7 separate regions of the Homo sapiens genome follow, and regions 2, 3, 4, 5, 6 and 7 are each linked to region 1. The links are contacts of gene promoters, found by promoter capture Hi-C in blood cells and fetal thymus (Javierre and others, 2016). All regions are on one chromosome and are shown on one strand. The core of a region is centred on a gene start or on the middle of the fragment in contact, and the rest is flanking DNA. Distances in the headings are between cores, read along the strand shown.

Region 1 (2,717 bases), core at 72-2,571:
TATTGGCCTGCCTGGTCTTGAACTCCTGACCTCGTGATCTGCCCGCCTCGGCCTCACAAAATGTTGGGATTACAGGTGTGAGCCACCGCGCCCAGCCAGTGTCTTCTCTTAATTAAATCTTAAACCCTACATTTCCTAGTGTTCATTGCAGTAGAATCTGGGCAATGTATTTTACCAAGGACTCTTGTTTTTGAGCTTCTTAAATGGCCGGGGAGGTAATTAAATGCCATGGGTCTAATGACACACACACTTTCCATTCCAGCGGCTCCAAGTTCCTTCTCTGATAAATAGTTTAGCAATTATCTCTTTGGCCACCACCTGCCTCCCCCGGGAATGGTCTGCCAGGGTGATCTGTACTCCCCTGCCATTTTCCAGAGTCTCTGTAAATTAGGAAGAATTCCTGACGTCTCGGGTAACGTAGCTCTTTATGGGAGTGGAACGTGGCTATCTTTCCTCACTTTAAAATAGAAATTCTGGAGACTAAGCACCATCAAGGTGGCCATGATTTACCAAAATGCCAGCTTTTCAAAGTTCTTAAGTGTACAACCTTCCAGACTGTAGACCGAACAAGGGTAAAGGAGACAAAATGTATTGTCATGATTTTGCACGGCTAGTCTCTGGCAGAGTCAAGACCTCACATTCACTCGAGGGCTCAAATTTAGATATTGACATCTCCAAGTGAAACTAGAGTCCTAAGTGTGTGAGTCAGGTCACTTACCAACTGTAAATGAACATTTAAAATATGCCACAATGCACTCGTGGCACTGCTTACTTTTTATCTGTTTTACATATCAGGAATCAAAAAGAAAAATAGTCTGATCCTGACCCAACCTCTAGGAGGCCCAGGTTCAGGGTCCCGCCACCAGCAGGAGGAGGGGTGAAAGGTGACTAGAAGAGCGGCGTTAGAACTGCAGGAATTTCAAGGTCGCCTCCTAGGCCTCAGCGGTGGAGGCTAGCACGAAGGCGGGGCTGCAGCGCTGCCTGAACCAAAAGTACGCTGCGCTGAGGCGGGGCACGGAACGGGCTGGACTTCGGCTGGATGGGGCCTAGCGGATGGTTGGGCCGCGGCGGGATGGGGCGGGGCTTCGGGCGGGATGGGGCGGGGCTTCGGGCAGGATGGGGCGTGGCCGCGGCGGGATGGGTGGGGTCTGGGTGGGATGAGGCGGGACTTCGGGAGAGATGGGGCGGAGCCGTGGCGAGGCGCTGCAGCAGAAAGGAAATGCGCTGGCGGGGAGACCGGGGTTGGTCCCTGGCGGGGCAGGGGGCGGGCTCAGGCCGGAACTCCAGAGACGACCTCAGCCAACTGCTCCTGCGCCGGGCGGGGTCGTCGCCGCCAGCGGCTCCGAGCGCCGGAAGGGCCAGGTCTCAGGGCTCCTGGAGCTGCAGGCGGCGGGAGGGGCTACAAGTGGGTCCATTTTTTAGTATCTTTTTTCCTCCTTTTCTTGGCTCATCCCCAAAAGCGGAAAGTTTAGGGCAGAGCGACAGTCAGACCCATCCACTATGCCCCAACACGTGCAGGGCTGCGAGGGCGCCCGTTCCTCCCGGGACCCCAAGCGGTTTCTGCTACGCCTGTACAGACGTATCTTCCCAGAGTGAAAGTTGATGTTTAGCCGTTCCGAAGTTGGTGCTTTGTGGGAAGGAGAACAGCGGGAGAGCCGTAAGGAACGCAGGCGTCCTGACGTGAGGAACGCCTCTTAACACGCCCCGTGGCATGGAGTTTGACAGGGCCCTGGATCCCTGCGTTCACCCCTCCTGGAGTCCTGGACGCCCACCTGGGAGCAGCGTCAGGGCCGTGCCACTTTGACCCACGTTAAACGCATTGCATCCTCATTTCTGTGTCCCATCTAGATGCTTGACTCAGTGATGCAGAACCTTTCAGAGTTAGCTGGAAGCCACAGCCCTGCCTCTTGATGCAGCCTGGATCCAGCCGGTGTGAAGAGGAGACCCCTTCCCTCTTGTGGGGTTTGGATCCTGTGTTTCTAGCCTTTGCAAAACTCTACATCAGGGATATCCTGGACATGAAGGAGTCCCGCCAGGTGCCAGGTATGTGGCTAGCCACCCTGGGATGCCCTGGGCTGCATCTGCCACCCTTTCCCAAAGTCTCAGAAAGCTGGGATTAGAGGCTTTTAGGAGAGCCTTCCCTGCTGCAGGCTTTGAAAGGGACCTAGCCTGGACCTTCGCATGAGTTCATTTATTTGCAAGGTAAAAAAAACAGTCTAAATCTTTTTTTTTTTTTTTTTTTTTTTAGTAGGTGTTTGGGGGAGTAACTTTTGTACTGGGGTTTTTACCTCCATTTAGGGTCTTTCATGCTTAAAAATGCTCATTTGTTTTTCTTTGGCCCTGCTCCTGTTGGAGAGATCGCTGGGCCAGATATTCCTAGGCCTGGCTCCTTTCCTAAATGTGCCACTTACCTGGTCCGGGCATGTGACTCACCTTCTGCAAAGTCTGGGTTTCTTTGTAAAAATGGAGCTTAACCCTGTGTAATGGAATCTTTTGATTCCTGATATGTAAAGGGGGTTTGTTTTCTTTTGAATTAAGCAGAATCAAAATATTATAAACTCCCTGAGAGGAAGAACATCATCTGTCTTGTTCACCTTTGTAATCCCAGGGCTTAGAACAGTGCCTGGCATATAGTGGGCCCTCAAATAGAAATAGCAGTTGAAGCAACAAGGCATTATACATGTAAAGTTTAAATTTTCTTTTTTTTTTTTTGTATT
Region 2 (2,700 bases), core at 183-2,682, 440 kb before region 1:
GAAGACGGAATTTATAAAGCTAGACTGGAGATGGAGGAAAAGCAATGATGAGGGGATGTGAATGGTGCAGAGGAAGCAAGAGAGTAACTAGAATGGGGTGGGGAGGGGGTGGAGCACGATGGTGCTGAAAGATGATGGGGCTTGGGCTGGCTTCATGGGAGTGAAAACTGGTCAGTTGCACAGGGCCCCTTGCTCAGAAAGGCCCCATTCTTGGTTGAATGCTCTGCTGTTCTGTCTTAAAATTATTTGTAATTTTTGAAGAGACTTTGTGTTTTCACTTTGCATCAGGCCTTGCAAATCATGTAGCTGGTCCTGGCTGGAACAGACCGTGGGATGGGTGATGGGGGAAGGGCTCTGATGGGGCCATGAAGGATTTGGGTAGGGCCATAGTGGATGGGGACTGTGAATGGCAAGTAATGACAGGGACCCGAGGCTCTTGAGGTTATACGTGAGGGGGCTAAGGGGCAGGCAGGGAGTCACTGAAGGGTTGCAGAAATAACCCCTCATTGGAGAGGCTGAAAATGGGGTGTACTGTAATATGGGGGAGTGGTGGGGTGATACGAGATGTTAACACAGGAGTCAATGAACACACGGGGCAGAGGTGATGGGCAGAAGAGCCTTAATGAAGCTGTGTGACAGCAGGTGATCACATGTTAGGAAATCAGGGTGTGACAGGTGGACAAGGGCCATTGATTGGGATGACAGCAGGCATCTGTGAAGCTTTCTTCCCGGTTTCCCCTGTGAGATAAGACATCTCCAATATTTCTGTGTGAGCCTCTCTTATGGTATCACTCCATGACTAAAAATCTAGGGCTGGGTGCATGTCACGTGTGGATTTCAGAATTCATTAATTTTCTACCGCACTTAGCATAGCGCCGATGCCACAGTGGGGATAGTGGGGTGTCCACACAAATGAAGGAGAAACAGGAGGTAAAGAGGCCAGAGCCAACGGAGAAAGGCGCGGGAGTGAGTGAGGGTGCAGGGGAATAAGATGTTGATGGGGGGAAATATTGGAATCACCGTTTGTGACAATCGTCAGTAGGAGAGGGACAATGGGGAGGGGTCAAGGGAAAGGCGACAGAGGGGCGCTGACTCCTGACCTCAGCCATCCTGATGCTCTCTGGGGGCGGCCTCAGAGGCTGCTGTGGAGATCGCAGGAGCTGGGCCGGAGTCTGGGAAAGAAGCTAAAGGCGCGACGCGCTGTCTCTATCGCCCGCCCCGAGCGGAAACCCGCGCTCGGCGCGTCGGCCCGTCGCCTGGCAACGGACACGCCCTCTAGGGGCGCTAGCGGGAATTCGAAAGGGGAGGAGCTTCTGCGGCTGGCACCTGGGCAGGGTTCCTCAGAGAAATATGCAAATATATCCCAATGGGGCGGAGCCAAGGAAGTGAGGGGGCGGTGCCCCTGAGAGGCTGGGAGGAGTCCCACGGTGTGGGCAGATGGAGACACCCAGGAGAAAGAAGAGGGCGAATTGGAAGAGGCCACCCAGAAAGGACGGTGTGTGACACTAGGGAGCCAAGCATGGAGAGCCGAGGACTAACGCTTGGAAGGAAATGTGGACCAGAAGGTTCCGGATGAGGGAAGGACTGGCGGCTACACTCTGCCTTCCGAGACAACGAGGAATAATCTCACTTCAGTCAGTTCAACCCTTGTAAAACAGCTACTGTGTGCAAGACACGGAGGGAAAGCTGAAGTAGAGAAACCACAGACGCTGTCTTCAAAGGGTTTAATCTAATATTAGTGATGAGAAAAATAGGGTGCAGAGCTTAAGGCATCCTGGAAAAACGTATGTAGCGCCACATCGCGAAAATCTCTCTTCTGGGACCCCTCTCCCAAAAACGTTTCTTCGCCCTCTTCTCCCCCTTCTGCCTCCACTCTTTCTGGACTTCAGGTACAAATAGTTGAAATAATTATACTCCTTGGTTCATGAAATGTGTAAGACTCCTCTCTGGTTTTATTTTCCCCCTTTATCCCCATCCCTACTCCCAACCCCTATCCTCAACCCCATAGGCATTCATGCTGCTGTGCTTCCATATGTATTTTTGGGAAATGTACAAAATTTTTATCAGTGTATTTTTTAAAAATGTTTAAATAATGCTACTGGACTTTGGAGATTATCTTATTTTCTACTTTTTTCACTCAACATTCTTTTTAAGGATCTGTCCTCGTTGCGATTGGCAAGCATATAGTTCATTGCTTCTGAGTACTGCACAGCGTTTCATAAGGGGCATCTACCACACTTCACTTCCATTCCCCAGGTGTTAGGTAACAAGGCCGCCTCTAATTCTCCAATACATCAAGTAATACAGCCATGATCGTCTTTGTCCGTGGTCCCTTAAGGACCTCTGTGCAAATTCCTCTGAAATATATGCCAAGGAGTAAGATTGTTAAAGTTATAGGGATGCACAGGGACATTTGCTTATGCAGCTGCGTCCTGCACAAACACATCCAGCCATGGGGCAATGGAGGCTGAAAAACTGTCTCTACTCTCTTTCCCGTGCCATGTGCCCTACTGGAGAAAGGTGTGCACTTTTTATTCTCACAAAATCTCTGTACGCCAGCCAAGTCATGAACCTAGAAGGCTGTAACTATCTAGAGGGTGTGATATTTTCAAACTCATCTGGCCAGATGAACAGTTTTCCAAGAGCACAACGATGCCCAGTAGCCTAGTACAAGCCCTGGGTACTTACCAAGCACTTTAA
Region 3 (2,949 bases), core at 390-2,889, 300 kb before region 1:
GATTGTCCCCAGGAGCCCCAGTGAAGCCCCAGTGAAGCCACTGGGCGTGTGAAGTGGGTGTGAGGCGAGGCACAGGTGGGGTGTGCCTACATGAAGTTAGTCAAAGTGCACACACAGTTGGACAGCCACTGAGTCAGCGAGGCAGAAGACGGGGTCAAGGGCCCAGACACAATAGAGAGGATCTGTGGTGTCCCATAAGAGGTGTGTGACAGAGAGTCTAAGAGTGATTCCAGAAGGTGGTTGTGGTGAACAGTGCCCAGTTCTGCAGAGGTAAAGTTAGGCAATGACTGAGAAGTGCCTTTTGGATTTAGGATGAAGGCAGGTATCTGTGGATATAGCTATGTCAATGGAATGGTGGTGACAGGATGCAGGTATCCTGGGATGAGGAAAGTGTAGCTGAGGAAGCCATGGCGGTGACTTTAGAACAACTTGCTCAAAAAGTTTGACTCTGAGGAGAGGGGAGAGACATAGAAAGGTAAGACTGAGGGAAGGCTTCTTTTGAGGATGGTATGGATGAGCACTTGTGTGTTGGCAGGAAGAAGTCAGGCTAGAGGGAGAGTTGGAAGATGCAGTTATCCTGAGTAAACCAATGTCCCTAAGAAGGCAAGACTGTGGGACCCAGAGCACAGGTGGTGGAATTGGCCTTAGGTAGGAGGAAGGACACACCTTCCATTGTAAGGGGAGAGGAGGCGGAGAGAACCATGCAGACCCAAATGGGTAGTTATACTTGAGAGCAAGAATTCTCAGCTGATGGCCTCTATTTTATTCATGGGAATCAAAGCCATTTACTGAGATTGAGAAGGGAGTAGAGGGGCTAGAGGTTTCGGGAGAGGGGAGAATATTTTAAATGCCCATTTTAGAGAATGAGAGAGAGAGAACTGGCCAGAGAAACATAGCAGGATTGGAGATCCTATTGAGGGTCTGGTGGGGGGTGGCAACCACAAGTTTATGGTGTCACTGCCATGCACAGTCCTGTAGTCTTTGTTCCCATGTCTCTAGCAGCCCAGGCTTTCAGTTGTCTCCATCCAGGGATGACGGTCTTTGCCAGGTACCTGATGCAAAAAGTCAAAGGATCAAGGGAACCAGAGATTCCAGCAAGAGTGTGGTTGATGTGTTGGGCAGGGCATTTGTGATAGGGAATGAAGGATGAGGGCAGGAGGGAGTGAAAGGCAAGCTAAGCTCAATCAATATTAGCTCCAGTTTCCTAATCACAACTCTGAATGGAGTTCTGGCCCCTCATTTGAGGGCATAGCTCACATTTAATTTTTTTCTTTTCCTTCATCTAGCAAGGGACTTTGTTCATGGTAGGAGTTCAGGATATTCTCTTAAATGGGTAAATGAATAAATCCATTTTAAAATACACCACTTTATTTATTTATTTATTTATTTATTTATTTATTTATTTATTTTTGAGATGGAGTCTTGCTCTGTTGCCCAGGCTGGAGTGCAGTGGCACAATCTTGGCTCACTGCAACCTCCGCCTCCCAGGTTCAAGCGATGCTCCTGCCTCAGCCTCCCAAGTAGCTGGGATTACAGGCGTGTGCCACCATACCCAGCTAATTTTTGTATTTTTAGTAGAGACAGGTTTCACCATATTGGCCAGGCTGGTCTTGAACTCCTGACCTCGTGATCCACCCGCTTTGGCCTCCCAAAGTGCTGGGATTACAGGCGTGAGCCACCGCGCCTGGCACCACTTTAATTTTAAAAACTCAATAAATGATCAATTGGCATCGATGAGAACAGTACCCCCAGATCCATATGGAGTACTCACATGTAGTACTTACAGATTCAGGCACTTACACTTGTTTTGTAGCAAATGTGATGATATATTTCATTTTCTAGGTTTGGCTGAGTTAAATTGCAAAATTATTAAAGAAGATAAAATAGCCTTGGTATAGCATATGACAGTATAGTGTTTTTAAAACATAGTTTTTTTGCTTTCTTAGGATACAATACAATGATAAGCATAATTATTTATAAATTTGACATTAAGGTCATTGATTATATAAATTGTATCATAAATTATATCCCAATTTATGTAAATTAAAAAATAGATAAATGTTCTAAATACATGAAATTCAAATGAACTTTTTTTCATCAAATGCTATTTTTCTCTAAGGAACTGGGAATCGAGTATCATTTTGTGTAAGAAATCACAGCCTGGAATGGATGTGAACCAAATGTCTTTTAACCCCATGAACTGGCGCCAGCTGTGCTTATCAAGTCCAAGTACAGTGAGCGTGTGGACCATTGAAAGAAGTAACCAGGAGCATTGTTTCAGAGCAAGGTAGGAGCCTTTGTTACAACAGTAGCAACATGGTGGTCTTTGTTTGCATTCGTGTAATGTGATTGGGTCAATTTGATGAATTAAGTGGCTTTATACATACATATATATGCATACACACACATACACACACATACGTTCAGCTTATCTTGTTATAACATCTTTCTACATGCGTGATTACCTTGGAGTGGTTGTTTGCATTTCAAAAGAATTCTCTATGACTTGTTTCCCAATTAATTTATTTAAAATATTAAGTTCTCTGAGAGCTTTTTCCAACATGATCTAATTTTCTAAAATTTTATTTGTCCTTACTATTTTAAAACATGCCTGTTGTATAAAAAGGAGAGTTAAGACTTTTGCTATTACTCAGATGCCCTACTGGAATTTCAAAAATAAGAAATGGTTAGATATAGAAAGTATGCAGATTGGCCGAGTGCAGTGGCTCACGCCTGTAGTCCCAGCAATCTGGGAGGCCGAGGCAGGCGGATCACGAGGTCAGGAGATCGAGACCATCCTGGCTAACACGGCGAAACCCCGTCTCTACTAAAAATACAAAAAATTAGCCGGGCATGGTGGCGCATGCTTGTAGTCCCAGCTACTCGGGAGGCTGAGACAGGAGAATCACTTGAACCCAAGAGGTGGAGGTTGCAGTGAGCCGAGATCGT
Region 4 (2,700 bases), core at 122-2,621, 330 kb before region 1:
AAGAGTTCATGCCATTGCACTCCAGCCTGGGCAACAGAGTGAGTGAGACTTTGTCTCAAAAAAAAAAAAAAAAAAGAAGAAGCTTGAATAGAAAAAAAATTGAGGGGATATTAAAAGTCCATTGAAAGAAGAATGGATAAATTGTGTTGTATTCATATAATGGACATCTACCCAACAATGAAAACAAATAGTCTACAGCTATAGTTATCAACTTAAATCCCTCTCAAAAACATGATATTGAGCCAGAATAGCAAGTCACAATAATATATATGGTATGATTCTACATGTGTTAACTTTAAAAACAGGCAAAGTGAAACAGCACATTAGTTATGGCTCATGCATACATGGTAGAATTGAAAAGCAGGGAACAATAATCACAGAATTCAGGATGGTAGCTACATCCAGGGGAAAGGAAGGGAATGGAAAAGGGTGGGTGCATGATGTAGGGAGGTGCTTCCAGGGTATTGGTTCCCTTCTGTTTCTTCAGTTGGAAGGTGGCTTCTAGAGAATGGCATTGAGATGGGAAAGGATCAGGTGGGGAGAAATGAGGTGGCGACTGCTGTCATTTGAAAAGCTTTCTATTCACTTTGATTTTTTACTCTTAATATACGCTATATTGGGAAAAATTAAGATTTAAGAAACATTTTTTAAAGAACAGGAAAAAAAAAACCTACTGTTAAAAGACAACTGTTAAAAGTAATGAAGTAGATTCATATATACTGATGCAGAAACATGCCAGAGATACACTGTTAAATAAAAATGTTGTAAAACAGCATGCAGGAGGTAATCTCATCTGTTGAATGTACATGTCCTGCCAGTTATCTCCTAAATGTTCTACCTGGAAAGTCTTTAATCCTCACAACAATCCTAAGATTTAAATACTGTTAATATTACCATCTCAGGGATAGGGAAACTGGGGGGCACAGGTTAAGTGATTTTCTCAAAATCAATATATTTTTTATGGTGGAGATGGGTTGTCAACTCTGGTCTTGTGTCTGGAATTTATTCCTTCCGGTGGGTTCTTGGTCTCGCTGACTTCAAGAATGAAGCTGCGGACCCTCGCAGTGAGTGTTACAGTTCTTAAAGATCGTGTGTCCAGAGTTTGTTCCTTCAGATGTTCAGATGTGTCCGGAGTTTCTTCCTTCTGGTGGGTTCATGGTCTCGCTGACTTCAGGAGTGAAGCTGCAGACCTTTGCAGTGAGTCTTATAGCTCTTAAAGGTGCTGCGTCCAGAGTTGTTTGTTCCTCCCGGGGGTTTACGGTCTCACTGACTTCAGGAATGAAGCTGCAGACCCTCACAGTGAGTGTTACAGCTCATAAACCTAGTGCAGACCCAAAGAGTGAGCAGCAGTAAGATTTATTGTGAAGAGCAAAAGAACAAAGCTCCCACAGCCCGGAAGGGGACTCCAGCCTGTTGCCCCTGCTGGCTCCGGTGGCCAGCTTTTATTCCCTTATTTGGCCCCGCCCATGTCGTGCTGTTTGGTCCATTTTACGGAGTGCTGATTGGTCCGTTTTTAACAGAGTGCTGATTGGTGCGTTTACAAACCTTTAGTTAGACACAGAGCGCTGATTGGTGCATTTTTACAGAGTGCTCATTGGTGTGTTTACAAACCTTTAGCTAGACACAGAGTGCTGATTTGCGTGTTTACAACCATTTAGCTAGACAGAAAAGTACTCCAAGTCCCTACCCGATCCAGAAGCCCAGCTGGCTTCACCCATCAGTCTGACACCTAAGTCTGATCGAGAGATCAGGTAGCAGTTAAGACTGCTACCATATCTCATGGATTCTAAGATTCACATTTCTTCATGTTTAAATACCTCTAAAAATGGAAGTGTATCTAAAATTACAGCAGGCTGTGTAGCAGTTTTGACACTGATGTTATTGCTCTTGCTTGGACTTGCAGGGTAGCTGTCAATGGCTTTGGAAGAAAATCCCAGAGATAACAGAACATTCTTGCTGCATTATGGAATTAAATGATCTTCTTGGCACAGAGGACAATGCTATGGGATGAATGAGTTGGGGAAATGAATGCCTATGATGCTGATTTTAAAAATTATTCAAAAGAGCTGGATTCTAAAAGTTGAATGAATACTTTATATAACTTATATTTTCCTTTTTATACTTGCACAAGAGTAAAATAGAATAAAAATCATTTCTAAATAAGCTTAAGAGTTCTTTTATCATAAAAATCTGGGCTTAAAAGAGCTCTTTCAATAAGCGTTAAATAAAAATTTTAGGATTCTGTTGTAATTTAATTGGTTATTTATTTAATTATTCCCTCCTTGTCAGTTGATCTTAGAGCTGACTAAATACAGTTTGTCTCCCTCACAGTCCCCCTAAAGTACTTACTGACATTTTTAAAGAAAAAAATGTATTTTATTTAATGTCCAATAAAAAATACATACACACACACACACCCCTAAAACAGAATTTACACTTACCATTGGGATGCACTGTGAAGTTTTTTTGTTCCGTTCATTTTAAAGACATGTTGGTTACAACTTAGTAAGCAGATCTTACCAACCACTAATACGTTCCAACTCAGAACTGCTCTAGAGCACAAATGTGTGTTATAAATGCTAATTAACAATTTAAGGGAAATTTATAGCCTTCCTTCTGAGAATTAGCTCACAATAGTATTCTATGAACTCAGAAAAAAAATTTAAAAAACTAACATAGTCTTGTTACCATGTATCCTGC
Region 5 (2,921 bases), core at 3-2,502, 390 kb before region 1:
GAAGCAAGAACTATGGAAACCTAGCTCCAGTCTGCAGGCTCTGAGCCCCTAGTTCCTCACTCCAGCGGGGCTCCCTCACTGCACAGAACCCACCCCTTCTGTGTGGGCACTGCTGACCACACAGATGACCCAGACCCAAAGAGCCTGGCAGAAGCTCTGTGGTTGGAGCTGGGCTCCGTCTCCAGGTCTGGTTCAGGGGGATCAGGAAGGCTCTTTTCCACCTGTGGCTTCACTGGCCCTTTGAGATTTCCTATCTCACCGTTACTTCAGTTACCCTTGCAGGGGGCCAGGGAGTCAAGAATATACCGTGTTCCTCCAGGGTTTAAGCCGGCCATGCCTTCCCGAGAGCATAACCAACTTGACAGGGGTGCCCAGTTACCCCACAAACTGAAGGAAGGAGATCCTTCCCCCATCCCCAGGAGTGCTCTCAACCAGCCTCAGAAAGCTTGAGAAGATGGACCCTTTGCCCACCAGGGTTAATTCCTGGTGGGGCAGCTCGGCTGTGATCAGGGCAACCAAACCTATAGGAAGCCTTCCAGTGTGAGCTGGAATTAGACTGAACATGTGCTTGGGCCTGCCTCTCCCTAGACGCAGTTGCGGGGCACTCCAGGGAATGAACCAGCTCAAGTGTGTCCCTAACAGCAGCCTGGAGCTACCCCCAATCCCTCACAGCCTGACCCTCCTCATTCCATCAGATGCATTTGTAGAATCGGGGCAAATTTCCTTATTTATTTATGGCCCATGCCTTTCCCCCTCTTCATCCTGATCCCGTTTTGCTTTGAAGAGACCCCAGTAACCAAAAAACAGCCTCCAGAAGCCAAAACCATGCCTGGATCTCCCATAGCTTCTCCTTTGCTTCCAGGAGAAAGTTCACTGAAAAAAAAATATCTTCTGGCTTCTTGTGTGTACAGAGACAACAGAACTCGGTGGGGAAACGGGAATCTTTTCTGCACCAAAGCTGCTTCTAAAGCAGAAAGCAGTGGGGCTCTTGGTGTTTCATGCTGCCTTATTTATATTAAAGGAAGAATTAAATCTTGCAAGGAGTAGAAATGGTCACTGTTTGTTTTTAACTTCAGGAAATCTGTGAGGCTCCCAGGGCAGAGTTGGGGACAGGGGGGTGGATTTCCTATTGACAAAGCAGAAGCTTTCACTCCCTTTTTATTCTTACACTTTCAGGAGACTTTAAAAAATAACAAAACAGAACATTTCTACCCTGTCTTTGAGGCAACTTGTGTGCTGCCCGCAGGGCTCCAGAAAGGGCCTTTGAAAGCTGGCTGTAGGGTGGATTCCAGCCTAAGACCTTATTTCACAGAGCTAATGTCAGCGAGAAATATAGGAGCTGGAACTAACAGGAAGCTTTTGGGTTTTAAAGAAAGAGATTGTATTTTAAATAGAGGATTTTGAGTCCTCTAGGGGACTTTGGCCTTTCCACTAAGGACAACCCTGCCCTCTTTCCCCAGAGTCTCTTTCCCAAGGATGCTTGACTTTCCCCAGCAACTGCTCACTTGCTTTGCAAAATAACAAGGGTGAAATGAATAGAGTTGGCCCCTAGGCCAAGAGGCTGGTTATGTTGGGGAAGGGCCTTATATCCTCAAAAGCTCTAGCCCCTCTGCATGCCTGGCTGAAGCACAGCCCCCGTTGAGAACCTGGGGGTGGAGCTCTGGTTCATCATCAAGGGTGTCATCCGAATCACCCAGACAACCTGGTCCATTGCCCCGACCCCGCCTTGAACCTACATGGTGCTCAGAATCCAGTCTGGAGTGGTCAGGCTAGGCTCGATTTTTAAAGATTTCCCCCAAGTGACTGATGGTACCCCTAGCTGAGGAAGCCCTCTCACTTTCTTTCTTAATGGAAAGTTAAAGAAAACCCAAGTGGACTACTTTCCCTACAGATCTATTGGAAGATAGATAGACCTGGGAAAAGCCAATGAGCCTGCTTGGAATCTGTGGTCTAAGTGGCATCAGCTACACCACAAGCTTCTCATGAGGGCACCCACATTCACGCTAGTGCCGTAAGCCTCAGAGAGAGGGTGGGAAGGCATAAGATGGTGAGCCCTTCTCCCAAGCAGGTCATGAATAGTCCACAAGCATTTGTCAGGAGCCTAACGTGCATGAGACATTGTGGAAGATGGGAAAATGAATAGGACCAAGCCTGTTCCCTAGGAGAGGCAGCAGAAGGTGGCCTTCCAAGTACTGAGCTATTCCAAGTGTGACCCTGCACTACACATACGGGTGTCACCTGGGGGCAGCTTCCTGGGCCGTGTCACAGACTCCAGTGGGATCCTGAGAAGTTAGGTAGAAGAATCTGCACTTCACCAAGTTCCCCACCTGATTCTGGATGTCCAAGAACCACTGGTACCTGGGCTGATTAGGGAAGGCCTCATGGTGGGGCGCTGCCAGATAGAGACTCTGAAAAATGACCAGGACTGTGGCCAGGAAAGACATTCCAGCCAGAAGCATGGAGTGAGGGTGGGAAGCACCTACTGTATGGCAGGCACCGTTCCGCACACACATTTGTTAATGCACACAGTTCCATGTCAGTCCTATGATGTAGGTGCTATTCTTATCCTCCCTGCTTTCCAGATAAGGAAACAGGCACTGAAGGGGCAACTGACTTACCTACTGTCACAGTGGTAAGTAGCACAGCCCAGATTCCAACCCAGGCAGTCCTGGTGTACATGTTGGCATATACTGAGAAGTCGTAGCAAATGAGGTTGAAAAGATAAGAGTGGGGCTGAACCATGCAAAGCCTTGAATGCTAATACAAGGTAAATTTGGACCTCACAACAAGCAGAGGTGGGCCATTGGCGGGTTTTGAGTGAGACAGTAACTTGATTCACCCCCAAACTAAGGAGTCCTTATCTATGTGATCAGTGCCATCCATGTCCTGTGCTGTAGGGTACATGGCCGGCTTCCCGAGCA
Region 6 (2,867 bases), core at 157-2,656, 410 kb before region 1:
TTGCTCTCTCCCAGGGCCTTGGACTCTTTCTGCCACCTCAGGCGTCTGTCTGGACACTGTAGCCCAGAACACATACAGATGGCATAAAGAATCCCACAAAGTTTTAAGTGTCAATACTGAGAAAACAGCAAGCAGACCACCAACTCCAGGCCTGAGACTTCTGGTCCCTTCCTGCTGTCTCACTCTGATATTAGCAGACCTAGTGAGCTTTGGAGACTCCTTCTGCCAAGAGATTCTGTGAGTGTGGCCTGAGCTATCTGAGGGTGAAAGGAAGGAAAGGCTTTCCCTTCCAGCACTGTTTGCTTTTCTGTTTAATAGGCACAGTAACAACCAGTTCCTGATAATATTCAGAGCACTTTGCAGTCCTCTGCTGGAAGTCCCTAGGAAAAATACAAAGCCCCGCAATTATCAAATGACTCACTTCCAGGTGCATAACACAGTGGGACACTCACTGCCTGGGAAGAGGGGCTCAGCTTGGAAGCAACCCTGGGCTGCTACTGCTTTCTCTCCCTTCTAGGTCATTTCCCTGAAGCTGATGCAGGAGTCCCCCCAACTCTCGCCCCCTCCTCCTGTATCAAAGCAGCAGGGAAGGTGTTGTCATTATTTTGGCCCTGCCCGCTAGTGCAAAACCATGTGCTCATAACATACTGTTCTCATGGGAGCCGGCTTCAATAGCCTCTTAGCAGCAGCCGGGGGACCCGCCTGAAGTTTACGAACGCGTCCTTTGTTTGCTGAGACTTTGTTCCAAAGTTCCCAAGGAGGCAGGGGTGCAGCATGCCTGGGCTGGAGGGTAGGAGAGCAGGGGCTGCCTGGGTCCTACCCCTGTGTGCTGCCCCAAAATGTCCCTAATGTACCCATGCCGCTTCCTGACATTTCACCCCAACACATGCCTACCTGCCAGTGTCAAGAGAGCCCTCACTCCCTTTTTTGCAGAGAAGGCTTTCCATTCCTTTTATCTCAAATAGCCCAGGCCACACTCACAGAATCTTGGTAGAAGGAGTCTCATAAGTTCATTAGGTTTTACTCCCTGCTTCATGCCCACATTTCATCTAGATTGTCACCTACCCTTCCCTAAACAGTCCGGGTGAGGAAAGTCCATAGGTACATGTCTAATGTTTCACAGATACCAGGTCACTGAGCAGCACAGCTCGTGGCTTCATGGGAAGAGTATAGGCTTGAAAGTCAGATAGGTTTGGATTCAGATCCTGGCTCTATGATGTTGGTGAGTGGCCTCACCTCTGTGCCTCAGTTGCCTTATCTGTAAAATGGAGATAAGTGCCTGCCTCAGAGGTTTGATGTGAGAATGATACATGTAAAGCTTTATTGTGCAATGCTTAAGCCTCAATAAATGGGATGCAGTGGTTGTAATTCATTAAACCCTCCCATGGTGTGTCAGGGCCCTGAGGCTTGTCCAGTTTTTTCCTGAAAGAAGAATTACTTCTCTGCTCCTTCTCTTACTCTGTAATCCTCTGTTTATTTCTACAAGAAGCTTGAGCAAGAAGGGAGGTGTCCACGGCAAGGCAGCTGAGGGTCAGAAAACGTGTCAGGGTTCATTCCTGGGCCATTTTCTAAACGTTGGCAGTGAGTCTGCCTGCAGTTACATGAAGGCCAGTCCAGACCAAACGGGGCTGCAACCGTCTCTGTCTCCAGGGCTACGTCTGGAAGGGATTTTGCTGGAAGGGATTTTCCAAGGCACTTACACTGTTAGCACTTTGTTTTTCTGACTGCAGTGCCCCTCCCAGGAAGAAAGAATGTAGAAGTTACTTTATCCAGAGCTTTCCACTTCACTCCAGGAATTTCAAATTCCTGCTCCTGGGAGTAAAGGCAGTGAGGTTCTTTTCCCAATCCTAACTCCATTCATGTATTCAGCAAGCATTCATTATAGCAACTACCCTCTTCCAAAGCTGGGTACTCAGAACCTAATGGAAGAGCTGTCAGTGTCAATGATGCCAGATTGGAGGGAGTAAGGGAGGGTGCTGCTGACCTTCCTAGGTCTCCAAACTTCCTCCTCTTCCTCTGTGTCAGCCCCTGGGGCCTTTAGAAGAAGACAAGGAGGTGGAGGAGACAACTTAGTCATACTCCCCAGGCTTCTGGAGGAGCTGCAGGGATGTTGTTCACCCACTTCTTCCCAGAGGACTCCTTAACATGCAACCATGACGATTTAACAAATCAAAAAGGAGACATGACCGCAGCACCAGTACCAGTGCCAACAGCAGTATCATTTACCAAGCACTGCCGAGTGACTGTGAGATGGTCCACAAGGCCATAAATTGGACACTATTGCCATAGCAAGTTGTAGAGCCAAGATTCAAACCCAGGCCTTCTGATTCCAGAGTTTGACTCCTTAGCAATGGTTCTCTAAGCCTCTGCAAACTGTTAAGCTCTTCTTAGCTGATGAGCTTTGGGCTGTTTCTTTCTCGGTGACAGTAGGAGTGGAAATGAGCCTGTGTGAACTTGACACTATCAGTGGCTGCTTGCTGCCCACCTCAGTCTGACTGACGCACATATGAGTCATGGGTCCATGCATTCAGCAGGCATTATTTGGACACCTACTGGGTGCCAGCACAGCCTCGGTGGAGCACCCGCATCACACCTTATTGCTCCGTCCCTGTGACTAGAAAATGATGTCATAGTAGGGTTGTTTTGTGCAATCCGTAGAGAGTGTGACTCTGAGTAGTCATAGGTACTTCTGGGAGCAATTTTGCTAACTGTTCCTAGCCTTACCATGTGGGCCCTCTGCTCTCCAGAGAGGAGGAGGACTGGTTTGCTCTGACTAACTGGTGTGGGAGGGCTGGCAGAGGCCCGGCTCTATTGTTCAGCCCAGATCCTTGCAGCAGAGCACAAGCAAAGACGCTCTTAATTTTTTT
Region 7 (2,700 bases), core at 40-2,539, 310 kb before region 1:
AAGGGAAGACGACTGAAGGGAAAGGAAGAAGGGTAAGGGAGGGAGTCTAAGGGAAGGTATGGGAGAGAAGAAGGAATGACAAGCTGCCGACCATTCAATCAGGTTACTTCCAGAGCTGTCTGCTTCCCTGAGGAAGCAAGAGGGTACATTTCAAAGTGTTATATGGTACTTAAGGGCTTGGAGCTCTAAATTAGCTAGACCTGCGTTTAAGTCCCACTCAGGGCTGGGCAAGGTGGCTCACGCCTGTAATCGCAGCACTCTGGGAGGCCAAGGCGGGCGAATCACTTGAGGTCAAGAATTTGAAACCAGCCTGGTCATCATGGTGAAAACCCGTCTCTACTAAAAATACAAAAAATTAGCTGGGCATGGTAGCACGTGCCTGTAATCTCAGCTACTTGGGAGGCTGAGGCAGGAGAATCGCTTGAACCCAGGAGATGGAGGTTGCAGTGAGCCAAGATCAAGCCACTGCCCTCCAGCCTGGGCAACGGAGTGAGACCCTATCTCAAAAATAAATAAATAAATAATATAAATAAATAAAGTCCCACTCAACTTTGTAGCCATGGACAAATTATGTGCTTCTCTTTTCCTCACGTTACTTATCTGTAAAATGGGGCTGATGGGAGATGTGAAGACGTTGCAACAATGTTTGGCACAGTCAGCACTCTAAATGAAAGTCTGTTTAGAAATTTATTGATTTTTAAAAATAATTATTTATTTAGAGACAGGTCTCGCTCTGTCGCCCAGGCTGGAGTGCTGTGGCGTCATCCCAGCTCACCGCAGCCTTGAACTCCTGGGCTCAAGCGATCCTCCCACTTCAGTCTCCCAAGTAGCTGGGACTACAGGCGTGCACCACCATGCCCGGCTGCTTTTTAAATTTTTTTGTAGAGATGCGGCACGGGCGCGGCAGGTTTCGCTATGTCTTCCAGGCTGGTCTTCAACTCCTAGCCTCAAGCGATCCTCCCGCTCTGACCTTCGAAAGCGCGGAGATTGTAGGCATGAGTCTTACTTGCAATTATTGGCCCGGACCTGGGGAAATTTGTTAAAATGCAGATTCTGATTGAGTAGATCTGGTGTGGGAGCCAAGTTTCTGCATTTATAACAAGCTTCCCAGGTAGCACCAATGTTGCTGGTAAACAGACCACACTTTGAACAGCAAGGGGCCCGCCCCTCGCTTGGCTTGCCGCTCACCCATTGGCCGAGAGCGGCAGACCTTCCACCAATCTGCTCGGCTCAGAAGGGAGCGGGCCAAAGCGCAGAGCCAATGGGCGCGGGGCTTACGGTCTCCGGGATACGGGTGTACACAGCAGCGGCGTCGCGGCCCGCAGCCCCGCGGCGGCGGAAAGGTAACCGACCCGCCCTGGGGTGCTGCGTGCGCTGCCTGCTCCCGCCTGAGGAAAACACTGCCCATGGCGCAAGGCCGGGAGCGCGACGAAGGCCCCCACTCCGCCGGCGGCGCGTCCTTGTCCGTGAGGTGCGGTGTTCACGGCCCCGCGACCGATCTGGGTCTCGCGGAACCTCCTGCCCCAAGTCCCCTCCTCCCTCCTCTCCCTCCGGTTCCTTAGGGCGGCTTTCCCCGCAGCTTCGACCTCTTCCCCTCTGCCCCCAGTGCCTTCCCTCAGCCTCCCTCCCCGTGTGACCTCCCCTGTCCGCTCCCCATCCCCTTGTTCCTTGACCCCGTCCCCAGTTGTCTTTCCCACTCCTTATTCTGCGACCCTGACCCTCCGTCTCTTACCCAGCAACGTCCCCTGCACCCTTCATCTCTTCCTTCTAGCTCAGGATTCCCGCTAGTGATCCGGGTCTTCTGATCACATCCCCCTCCCCCTCCACCTGGCGACAGCCCGGATCCCGTCCTTGCTACCTTTGGTGATTTTCCCCAAAGTTAGGTCCCTGAATCCTTTCCTTCTAACTCCTATCCACTAGCTTTGGATTTATTTGCATTTATAGTAGCCTTTGAAAAGCATCAAGCACTGCGCAGATATAGGTGGCATTTTTTCCCCTACATTCTAGAGTGTTCCTCCCAGCCCCCACCTCCACTCTATACAGCATCCCCTGCTAGTCCTGGACACTCTAATGTCTCGAGGTTTCTCACCAAACCAGTGTCCTTCACTTGCCTTTTCCACCATCTTCAAGCATACCTTTAATATTTAAATAAAAATAGAATCTCCTTCATCTCCTCTCCTTTCTAGCATACACCTAGCACGCACTCCTTACTTGAGAGTATGTTCTTTTTGTGTGCTAGCCTTTCATTCACGTCGACTTCATTCCTTTTATTTTCTACGTTTATCTGTATTTTTAAATCTAAAATATGGCCACATACTCTTCATCTGTGTAAATAAGCAATTTTCCTACTCTGCTAACAACCACAAAGCAGGCTGTCCTATGCAAAGTTGTTTTTTAAAGTTTATTTAAAAAAATCAAACTAATTATAAAAGAATGGCCCAGGATGCCACTGTGTTGAGATCAAGCTCTTTTCTCTGTTATTTTCACTTTTTGTCTTCCAAGTATAGAAGACCCCAGAAGTCCTTCTGAGACTTTCTCAGGTTTGGTCAGAGAGTTTCCTTTGCTGAAAAAGTTATCTGAAGAAGGCCTGGGAGACCTACGGAACTTTAGGTCTACATTTAAATTTCTATAATTCATTGACTCAAATGGATCTCACAGCCAGCATGTGTGTTCTTTTATCTTAGAAATTGGGGGCAGAAA

What was found. The method cuts DNA at HindIII sites, captures the fragments that hold promoters and counts their contacts. A CHiCAGO score of 5 or more calls a contact.
Region 2: the fragment with the promoter of CFAP58-DT here is called in contact with the fragment with the promoter of STN1 in region 1 in 1 of 17 cell types (total B cells); the score reaches 5.0 in total B cells.
Region 3: a contact is called between a fragment that was not itself captured here and the fragment with the promoter of STN1 in region 1, in 7 of 17 cell types (activated CD4 T cells, naive CD4 T cells, M2 macrophages and 4 more). The highest score is 7.4, in activated CD4 T cells.
Region 4: a fragment that was not itself captured here is called in contact with the fragment with the promoter of STN1 in region 1 in 6 of 17 cell types (fetal thymus, erythroblasts, naive CD4 T cells and 3 more); the score reaches 10.8 in fetal thymus.
Region 5: a contact is called between a fragment that was not itself captured here and the fragment with the promoter of STN1 in region 1, in 1 of 17 cell types (total B cells). The highest score is 5.0, in total B cells.
Region 6: a fragment that was not itself captured here is called in contact with the fragment with the promoter of STN1 in region 1 in 3 of 17 cell types (fetal thymus, activated CD4 T cells and naive CD8 T cells); the score reaches 6.1 in fetal thymus.
Region 7: a contact is called between the fragment with the promoter of CFAP43 here and the fragment with the promoter of STN1 in region 1, in 13 of 17 cell types (fetal thymus, naive CD8 T cells, naive CD4 T cells and 10 more). The highest score is 14.3, in fetal thymus.

Annotation. Positions count from the first base shown.
Region 1 is chr10:103,916,788-103,919,504 of GRCh38, reverse strand. It overlaps STN1 (STN1 subunit of CST complex), which reads left to right and starts at 1,321. Exons shown (of 10, transcript NM_024928.5): 1 at 1,321-1,405; 2 at 1,849-2,043. The coding sequence starts at 1,911. RefSeq lists a silencer at 1,010-1,359 and enhancers at 1,100-1,394, 1,025-1,670, 1,530-1,859. The HindIII fragment of the contact is 18,147 bases long and covers 1-2,717 here.
Region 2 is chr10:104,352,307-104,355,006 of GRCh38, reverse strand. It overlaps CFAP58-DT (CFAP58 divergent transcript), which reads left to right and starts at 1,432. Exons shown (of 2, transcript NR_108036.1): 1 at 1,432-1,889. It overlaps CFAP58 (cilia and flagella associated protein 58), which reads right to left and starts at 1,174. Exons shown (of 18, transcript NM_001008723.2): 1 at 1,101-1,174. The coding sequence starts at 1,109. RefSeq lists an enhancer at 1,445-1,504. The HindIII fragment of the contact is 7,343 bases long and covers 723-2,700 here.
Region 3 is chr10:104,213,597-104,216,545 of GRCh38, reverse strand. CFAP43 (cilia and flagella associated protein 43) reads left to right here. Exons shown (of 38, transcript NM_025145.7): 4 at 2,120-2,287. Among named protein-coding and RNA genes, the nearest start is that of MIR609, 3.8 kb to the left of the region's middle. The HindIII fragment of the contact is 3,368 bases long and covers 1-2,949 here.
Region 4 is chr10:104,247,796-104,250,495 of GRCh38, reverse strand. LOC124902497 (a long non-coding RNA gene) reads left to right here. Exons shown (of 2, transcript XR_007062284.1): 2 at 1,904-2,163. Among named protein-coding and RNA genes, the nearest start is that of GSTO1, 5.7 kb to the left of the region's middle. The HindIII fragment of the contact is 1,590 bases long and covers 577-2,166 here.
Region 5 is chr10:104,310,260-104,313,180 of GRCh38, reverse strand. It overlaps ITPRIP (inositol 1,4,5-trisphosphate receptor interacting protein), which reads left to right. Exons shown (of 2, transcript NM_001272013.2): 2 at 1-2,921. Among named protein-coding and RNA genes, the nearest start is that of ITPRIP-AS1, 12 kb to the left of the region's middle. The HindIII fragment of the contact is 212 bases long and covers 1,147-1,358 here.
Region 6 is chr10:104,329,183-104,332,049 of GRCh38, reverse strand. The region is part of intron 1 of ITPRIP (inositol 1,4,5-trisphosphate receptor interacting protein); the gene reads left to right. Among named protein-coding and RNA genes, the nearest start is that of ITPRIP-AS1, 7.3 kb to the right of the region's middle. RefSeq lists silencers at 305-599, 2,624-2,673 and enhancers at 560-1,205, 1,206-1,851. The HindIII fragment of the contact is 171 bases long and covers 1,321-1,491 here.
Region 7 is chr10:104,230,953-104,233,652 of GRCh38, reverse strand. CFAP43 (cilia and flagella associated protein 43) reads left to right here and starts at 1,289. Exons shown (of 38, transcript NM_025145.7): 1 at 1,289-1,471. The coding sequence starts at 1,407. RefSeq lists an enhancer at 1,168-1,462. The HindIII fragment of the contact is 2,497 bases long and covers 1,106-2,700 here.